Regions from separate parts of the Homo sapiens genome. Here regions 1 and 2 are each linked to region 3. The links are contacts of gene promoters, found by promoter capture Hi-C in blood cells and fetal thymus (Javierre and others, 2016). All regions are on one chromosome and are shown on one strand. Each heading gives the region's core, a stretch centred on a gene start or on the middle of the fragment in contact. The rest is flanking DNA. Distances are from core to core; before and after follow the strand shown. Region 1 holds the start of NXT1 (nuclear transport factor 2 like export factor 1). Region 2 overlaps GZF1 (GDNF inducible zinc finger protein 1). Region 3 holds the start of CRNKL1 (crooked neck pre-mRNA splicing factor 1).

The links. Contacts are between HindIII fragments. The CHiCAGO score rates a contact against its expected background, and 5 or more counts as called.
Region 1: the fragment with the promoter of NXT1 here is called in contact with the fragment with the promoter of CRNKL1 in region 3 in 6 of 17 cell types (naive CD4 T cells, total CD4 T cells, activated CD4 T cells and 3 more); the score reaches 13.2 in naive CD4 T cells.
Region 2: a fragment that was not itself captured here is called in contact with the fragment with the promoter of CRNKL1 in region 3 in 1 of 17 cell types (total CD4 T cells); the score reaches 6.1 in total CD4 T cells.

What each region holds. Positions count from the first base shown.
Region 1 is chr20:23,349,285-23,352,054 of GRCh38, reverse strand. NXT1 (nuclear transport factor 2 like export factor 1) reads right to left here and starts at 1,264. Exons shown (of 2, transcript NM_013248.3): 1 at 994-1,264. It overlaps NXT1-AS1 (NXT1 antisense RNA 1), which reads left to right and starts at 588. Exons shown (of 3, transcript XR_937384.2): 1 at 588-725. RefSeq lists enhancers at 413-462, 519-1,390, 1,329-1,623, 1,543-1,682, 1,391-2,263 and silencers at 953-1,222, 1,843-1,972. The HindIII fragment of the contact is 12,471 bases long and covers 1-2,770 here.
Region 2 is chr20:23,370,825-23,373,670 of GRCh38, reverse strand. GZF1 (GDNF inducible zinc finger protein 1) reads right to left here. Exons shown (of 6, transcript NM_022482.5): 6 at 609-2,846. Among named protein-coding and RNA genes, the nearest start is that of GZF1, 10 kb to the right of the region's middle. The HindIII fragment of the contact is 2,979 bases long and covers 81-2,846 here.
Region 3 is chr20:20,051,113-20,053,812 of GRCh38, reverse strand. CRNKL1 (crooked neck pre-mRNA splicing factor 1) reads left to right here and starts at 1,347. Exons shown (of 14, transcript NM_001278628.2): 1 at 1,347-1,521. The coding sequence starts at 1,471. It overlaps CFAP61 (cilia and flagella associated protein 61), which reads right to left and starts at 1,281. Exons shown (of 27, transcript NM_015585.4): 1 at 1,222-1,281. RefSeq lists a silencer at 873-922 and enhancers at 1,013-1,312, 1,323-1,492. The HindIII fragment of the contact is 2,238 bases long and covers 1-1,390 here.

The DNA of each region.
Region 1 (2,770 bases), core at 15-2,514, 3.3 Mb before region 3:
ACATGTTCAGTACAAACGCATTTTTCTTTTTCTGAAGAATATTTTTGATTTGAGGTTGGTTGAATCCACCCCACGCGGAACCCACGACTAAGAAGCGCTGTGTTTGCTAAGGGCTTCACACAAATTACCTCATTTAAATGTTACCACAAATGGATGAAAAAGGTATTACTATAACAATTTTACAAATGAGAAAAGGGAAACCTAGGGCTGGATCAAAGTAACGACGGTTAAGTACACTCCTGATCTATCGTTTACAAGACTAGACTGAGGGCTGAAATTTTGTCAATACAACGCTGTCCTTGTACTCGCGTAAGCAAGTCTCCATGAGCACAACTCCAGGACTGCTAGAGTGGGAATTTTCTCCCAGGGACCCCATTTCTCTTTGGCTGGAATTCCCGATCTCCACCTCACTCCTCCTCCCTCCATGGCACCAGTCCCCCCATCATCTCAGAAATGCCCCTCTTCTCCGCCCCTGGCTGTCTTTCCAAACACAATCTAACAACTGGCCACGCCCCCACACACCATAGAAGGACCATCTCCACTTACGGTTTTCAGCTACCTATGAGGTCGTCAGTCCCGCTGTCTGTGTCAAATCAGAAAAAGAACCTGACCGTGAGGACTAGAGTAAGAGGCTGTGAAGACTGCCGCCTCCTCGCACGACCCACACCGTCGAGTGTCCGGAGATGGACGGGAAAAGCTACCACAGTGGCATGGCCTTATTTCCTGTGAGTCGCCTTTAATTCAAACCTAGACAGACGCACGCCCTGCCCGGCCCTCCTCAGACCCGAGAGCTGCGCTGTGAGGGGACGCGCCTCCCCTCGTTGATGAGAATTCGCTGCCACGCTTTTTGCACAGGCGAGAGCCTCACCGCGGCGGCAACTCTACCACGTGGACAAAGGCACAGCCGTGTCTCATTCTCGACAATGGAGGAGGGCGTGGGGTATGCACTAGGGGCTGTCTCGGGGGTCAGACCGCCGGGGGACGGCAACGTACCTGCGCGGCGACGTCCAGGGTCAGCGCGGGCCGCGGCCCCCACGGTCGGGACGCCCCCCGCGTGGGACGCAGTTCCACTGAGGGGCCGGCCGCGGAGGTCACAAGGTGGGCCCACCGAAGCCTCTGGTAGGGGCACGGGAAGAGCCGCCTTTCTCTCCTCCTCCTCCTTCTTGGAGGCTTACTCTGGGTCACCGGGGCCCCAGAGCCGGGGGACTTTCCGGCGCAGTTCCGCGGCTTCCCGCGCGCGGCCAGCCGGTCTCCACGCAGACGCGAGCGCCCCGGCGCCGCCCTCTCCCGCATTCCCGTGACGGGCAGCGAAGTCAGCCAGTGGGACTGCGGGCCGGAAGGCTAACTCCGCCCATGTGTGGCTTATAAGAGGCGGTAGCTTCCGGGAGTGTCACTTTCCCAGAAATCCCGGCAAATCCGCCCTAGAGTTTTCGTTGGTCCAACCGGGCCACAGACTCCGGCCCGTCTGGTTAGGTGGGATGCCTGATTGGGCCAAACCTCTTAGGTCCCGCACCTAGAGCGGGGAGTAGCGTCTGCTTTTTTTTCCGCTGAGCGGAGGCCGCTAGGCTGGAGAGGGAGGGGAAGGTGTGTGGGGTCGGGTGAGATGCTTTCCCCTCGTCCCGCATGCGCCTGTATTGGAGTGATTTCAGTTAAAAGTCTCGTGAAACGTCACCAGTGATGTAGTCACGGCCAGCAGCAGCTGCCTGACCCCGCCGAGGCCTTCCGTCTGGCAACATGTGGGGCGCCGCAATGCTTGAGGCCACGGCGAGGGCAACGCCGGCCGCGCCCCGTGGAAACCGCGTGGCGGAGTGCTTGAGCCGATCGCGCTCTTTAGGAGTTAGGCCACTTAGAGGCGACATCTTGGTGGACACGGAGGAAGCCAGTTTTAGTCAGATGGGAAAAGTAGCTAAAAGTGGGAGGAGACTGGGGCGAGGGTGGGACGTGGGGGAGGCGGGGGCGTGACGGCGGCTCTCCACTGCCCTGAGGCTTGAGGGGCCCCGGGAAACCCGGGCCCGGCTGGGGTTGGGACTCTGTTCTTCCGCGTTCATAGCTACGATTCAGCTGTTCTGGAATGAGAACTGGATTTTTACTGAACTTTACGAACAGGCTCAACAGGATGTAACCATTCAGTGTGGAGGCATGAGAAACTATAGCTTGTAAATTAAAAGAAAAACCTCATTTCTTTAGACAACATTTTCAGCTCCATCTGCTGGTCTGAGGCTGAATAATTAATTGAAAAGCCAGGAGAGAAATGGGGCTAGATGAAGTGAGGTAGTTTAACCTGTGCTTTCTTGGCGTCCCGTCGGCTCCCTTTGCTTGCATTCCTAAGAGAATCTTGGTCTCAGATTTCAGGACAAGTGGAAAACAGTTGGGCTATTTAGTATAGGCCACCCCTTCCCCCCCGCACCCTCTCCCCCCACACACTTCAGTTAAGTAGGTGGAAAGTTTGGATTATTAAAAAGACACGTTGGAGGCTGAGCAGAGAGTGTGAAAGAGCATTTTCGGGGCTTTGTGAACTAACATGGCCTTTTGAACCCCAAGGCAGTGATACTTGGATTGATCTAAATCAGCGTGGATGGAATGGAAGTGGGAATGCGTTGATTTACTGCACGCTCAGTAGTTTGGATGCTGTGCTGCTTTTGTTTCCTGTATAATAAGCCCCTTTAATTTGTTTCACATAACTTATTGGGGGAGGTACCATTATTTCTGATTTTATAGACAAGGAGGCTGACAAAGAACCATCCTGGTGTCACAGGGTCGATTCATACCT
Region 2 (2,846 bases), core at 321-2,820, 3.3 Mb before region 3:
CATGATGTGATAGATCAGGGGTCCCCAACCCGTTAGAAACTGGGCCTTACGGCAGGAGGTGAGCTGCAGGCAGTGAAGCTTCATCTGTATTTGCAGTCACTCCCCGTGGCTCACATTACCACCTGAGCTGTGCACCCTGTCAGATCAGCAGTGTCATTAGAGTCTCATAGGAGTGCAAACCCTATTGAACTGCGCGTGCACGGGATCTAGGTTGTACGCTTTTTATGAGAATCTAATGCCTAATGATCTGTTGCTGTCTTCCATCACCCCCAGATGGGACTGTCAAGTTGCAGGAAAACAAGCTCAGGGCTCCCACTATACATTATGGTGCATTGTATAATTACTTCATTGTATATTACAATGCAATAATAATAGAAAGTGCACAATAAATGCAATGCGCTTGAATCATCCTGAAACCATTCTGTCCCCCCACCTGTGGGAAAATTGTCTTCCACAAAAGTGGTCCCTGGTGCCAAAAAGGTTGGGGACTGCTGTGCTAGATGATCCTCTGACCTGTGTGCCTTTCTCAGTCACATCAAATGAAATATTGTTACTCCTGAGTACATGAATATCATGACATTTGGTTAAATTGACAAGTACCCATCTTGTTTCCCAAAAATGAACTCCTTGGAGGGACAAGGTTTATTTAACAGGTTAAAAATTAAATTATACACTCAAATTTACTTGTTTGGATAATCACCTACAGCAAAATCACATTTCTGTAAAAATCACCTTAAATAAAGGTCTCCACCACATGGCCCATTTTTTCCAAACGACAGCAAAGAATTTGGTAAAACGAAAGGCTGCACATCCCTTTGGAGTTTGGGCTGACAGCATTTCACAGAAAATGGTTGGAAAATGGTTGAAGCAAGCTCCTAAATGGCCCTTCTTGAGGCTCTGGGAGAGGCACTGTGCCGGCACCTGGCCACTTTCCTCATTACACACTTGGGACCAATCCACTCAGATGGTGGCCTCGCTTCCACTCAGCATGGCTGTGCTTGGACTTGGAGGAATGGGGCAGATGCTCCAGGAGGTCCTCTGTAACCAGTCCCCTACAGGGTTACGTTTCTCTGTTCTCAGGGACAGAGAAATGTATATAGTAGAAGTCGTATCTTTGATGCCTACTTTTTACATTGAAGAAAGTGGCAGAGAGCTCAACCGCACTTCCAGCCCGGTTGTGGCCTGCGCATGAGCAGAGGCCAGGATTTCTCCTCTCCAGGATCCCACTGCCAGAGACCAACTGGGATCCAAGCAGTTAAACAGCTTAATCCTAGGACTGTATGAAATAAAGGCTTATGGACCCGGATTTTACATTTCATTATTCACGTAATTAAGCAAATTATATGTTTCAATTAAGAATCATATTTCTGCAGAACCTAAATTATAACAGAAATAGATCTTTAAAAAATTGCAAAACTGCTTTTACAAAGCAGACATTTATTAACAACATTTTTTTGTAGAATTTCTAAGGAAACAAATTCAAGACAAAAATCCCTCCAGTAGGTAACAAAATGATCTATTGTTTCAATTCCTTCTGATCAAGTGACTTTATTCCATAAAACAGTACATCAGCTGGGCAGGTTCGGTCTCCTCTGGATGTATGACAGTCATTATTTATTTGTGCTGTAAACATAACTAGGATACAGTGACACTGTCATAACTAAATTTGAAGTAAATTAGTACTGTGACCTCCAAGGGCAGGTGTGAAGCATGTTATCAGCGCCTGAAACACCTTGTAGTGGTTTCACTAACATAAGTTAAAACATAAGCACTTAGGAAGAAAGTCTTCCCTCATTAATTTCTGGCATAGTGCAGCTACATGTTCATTCTGGAACTTAAAGTACCTTCCTCTTAGAAAATCAAAGTGTTTTCACAGCAAGTTTAATAAATTAAAAATGTAGAGAAAAAAGGAACTAGTGAACAAAAGAATTCTCCAAGGTTCCCTTTTTAAATTAATGTTTAAATGTTACATGTGAATCATAGCATTTCACAAGCACGTGGCACATACTCAAGGCCCTAGAACCAAATGTCAACGTTTAACAAATACAGCAGAATCGTCTTTTCATTGTGAATTTTTAAAAGCAATAATTAAGTCCTGCATGAAACAGCCAAAGAAGCATTTGGGACAAAGTTACTGGTTCTTCACAATCAACTCTTTAAGGCATAATCGGAGGTAAGTGTGCTGAGACTTTTGGTCCCTACTGCTATGTTCTCACATGCTCCCAAGGAAATAGACATGTCAGTTACTTGCCTGTTTCCATCTCTAGGTGTGGAAATGAGAAGTCTGGGTTTCTGGAAATTACAGAAATCAAGTCAGAAAAACCTGGCAAAAGTAATAATACTCTGTGTTCTATAATTTGCCACAGTCACCTCATTTTGCAAATAAAATGACTACACAACTTTCAAGTACTCTAAAGCGTCTTAATTTTTCATGCCTCTGCAAAAAAATACTATATTGTTTTGCTAGACTCTTTGGTAGGACAGCTTTTACCTAATCTGATTTTTTTAAGACAAACTGAACAGCCTCATCTCATTTCTAAGTTGATTTTATGACAAACTTCCTAGCTGCGTATGTGCTGAGATTACGCTAGCAGTTTTGCAGGTGTTCAATCTGTCAGTCATACTTTGTTTACTGCCTACAAATGGGGGGTGGGGAGGAATGAATGCAACAATCTATTTCTTCAGTTGCATTTGAGGGTCCCCACAGAAAATCTGATTTGCTTCAATTCAACAGGGAAGAAATGACTGAAAATATGTGGCCCCAGTTTTATTTCAGCTTGGAAGAAAAATACCTTGAAAGTAGTTATGAGAGAAGTAAACCCACATGGAAATATAAGGCAGAGTGA
Region 3 (2,700 bases), core at 98-2,597:
TTTTTAATATTTATTTATTTTGTTAGGTGGCTTTATGAAAGTGATATAAAATCTTCTCTATTTAAATTTTGAAAAGTGAGATAAAATATCTAAATAATATGGTTAATAAAGAGTTATGGCAAATACATTGATGTTGGTTATAACTGACTGCAGTTCTAGAAATCTGCATAAATCTTTTGTTGAAAGTAATATCTGCATTGGTAGACGTGATATTACTACATACATAAATATATATTTTCCCCAAACACCAAAAGAGCTTTGCAACTGTGGAAATTATCCTAACAAATGAGCTGCCAAGTCATGTCATTATACATTTGTCCAACCTCATAGAATGTACACCAAGAGTGAACCCTAATATAAACTATGAACTTTGGGTGATAATGATGTGTCAATGTAGGTTCAAGATTGTAACAAATGTACTGCTCTGGTGGAGGATATTTTTAAGAGTTGGAGGCTGTTAGAGGAGGGAAGAGGTACAATAATTGATAGCAGGAAGCTGTGGAGGGAGGAAATCTCTGTGTCTTCCACTTAATTTTGTTGTGAACCTAAAACTTCTCTAAAAATGTCTATTAAAAAAAATTCTCTTAACCTTTGCTTTTCAGTTTTTGAGGGCAGGTTAAGTATTATAACAGCTAACATCTACTGAGCATTTGTCTTTAATCCTAGTGAAACAGATGTTATTAGCCTTGTTTTATAGTTGAGGACATTGAGGCTAAGAAAATTTAACTAGAGTAATTAAGGCACACACAGAATTTAAACATGTTTCTTATCACAAGACTGAGTTGTTTTCCAGTTACTCTATTTATATTTTTTCCTAATATCTGGCTTCAAAGTACCTTCTGTTATTTTTAATTCCAAGCCTTAGAGTTAATTATTTGGGCACCTTAGAATTATTTGGGCACAACTGTCCCGAAACCAGAAACGAGGGGGCGTGGACCCAGAGACTACTAGAATGCAATGCTCGAGGCATTGCAGCCTAAAAGGGCGGCAGCTCGCCCCGTCGCATGCTGGGAATGGTAGTTTCCTCGCTCTCCCTTCTTCCCCCGCCCTCGAGCATCCAGATTGGAGCTCCGTTCTTACTCCCTTGCAGGGCGCCACGGCTCGACAGAGCCACTCGTCCTCGCCTGGTCATCCCAGTTCCGGAGGCTGACCTGGGGATGCGCCCTGGACGCCCTGCACCGCAGTCCTTGCGTCGCTGCTAGTCAGCACGGCGTTACCCACCTCATCCGCAGCTCCAGGACGCCGCACTCCACGCGCTGCCGCAAGGAGGACGCGCAGCCTGGTCACCATGGAAACGGTGCCGCCTCCGTCACGGCTCAAGCGAGAGGTCAAAGGTCAGTCCTGCAAGTTCCGCTTCCGGTTCCGAGATCCTGTTTGTTTTCTGAAAGCTTTGTGGTTTCGGTGAGCTCTCAGAGCCGATTTCTAGCGTCCGTGCCGGGGACAGGTGTCCAGAGGTCGACTGCTGCAGACATGGCGGCCTCCACCGCGGCCGGGAAGCAGCGGATTCCCAAAGTGGCCAAGGTAGGCGATCGCGAGGGGCCTTGTAGGAGGTGGCCTAGGAAAGGGGCATCCCTCAGCCCTGAGGGTGCCCGGGTTGGGAGAGAGTGTTCCCGCCGGGGAGAAGGCTCACCCTGAGAGATGGAGAGGAAGGGCAGCTGGTGGTGGGGCGCGGGCTCTTGTCATCGCGGAGCACGACCCGCGTTGGCGTGGCCTTCGTTCTGGGGTGGTTTTGCTGGGGAGTGGAGTGGGGTGGTTCGGTGAAGATTTACTGAGCCAGGCACTGCACTGGGCGCTGGGAAGCTACGCTCGTACGCTGGCCACAAGCAGTACTCAAAACACGAGTTTCTGTATAAAGACGACCTTGCTAGATGTTACCGAGAGGCAAAGTAGAATATGCCATGGGCGTGAATAAGGGGGTCGTATGAAGGGGTCCTGAAAGTAAATTTTGCTGAGGAAATGACCTTTAAGCTGAGACTTGAAGGCTGAATAGGAGTTAGCCCAGCTGACAGCGGAGGGCGAGAGTAGACGGTAGGAGTAGTATAGTATCATAAGTTAATTAAACAGTAGACTTACTATCTGGTATTTCCTTTGATAGCTAATACTTACCAAGTGCTTAATATGTGGCAGACTTTGAAGCCTTTACAGATACCCTCCCTCCAGTCTTTCTTGAGCCCGGATGACTCTCTTGAACTGGACCTTTACATAACTATTTGTCTGACTCGCAGGAGTAATGCATATAGAGCAAGTAACACTGTGTCTGGCACTTAGTGCTTATTAAATATGAGCTATCACCATTATCATCATTACTCCACATGTGGCATTAAGTAACATTTTTTATAATTCAGCTACATAAACTTTTATTGGGCATCACTGGTCCAATGGAAATATAATGCACACCACATATGAAATTTTAAATTTTCTCATATCTACATTAAAAAGTAAAAACAAAGCAAAAAAGTGAAATTAATTTTGATAATATATATTTTATTTGAGCTAATGTATCCAAAATATTATCATTTCAACATGTAATCGGTATAAAAAATGTAATGAGGTAGTTTATTCTTTTTTATACTTCATCTTCAAAACCAATGTGTATTTTACACTTACAGTCCACCTCAATTTGTACTCACCACATGTGACTCATAGCTACTGTGTTGGACAGCACAGCTCTAAGCTACGTTAGACTGTAAGCTTCTAAGA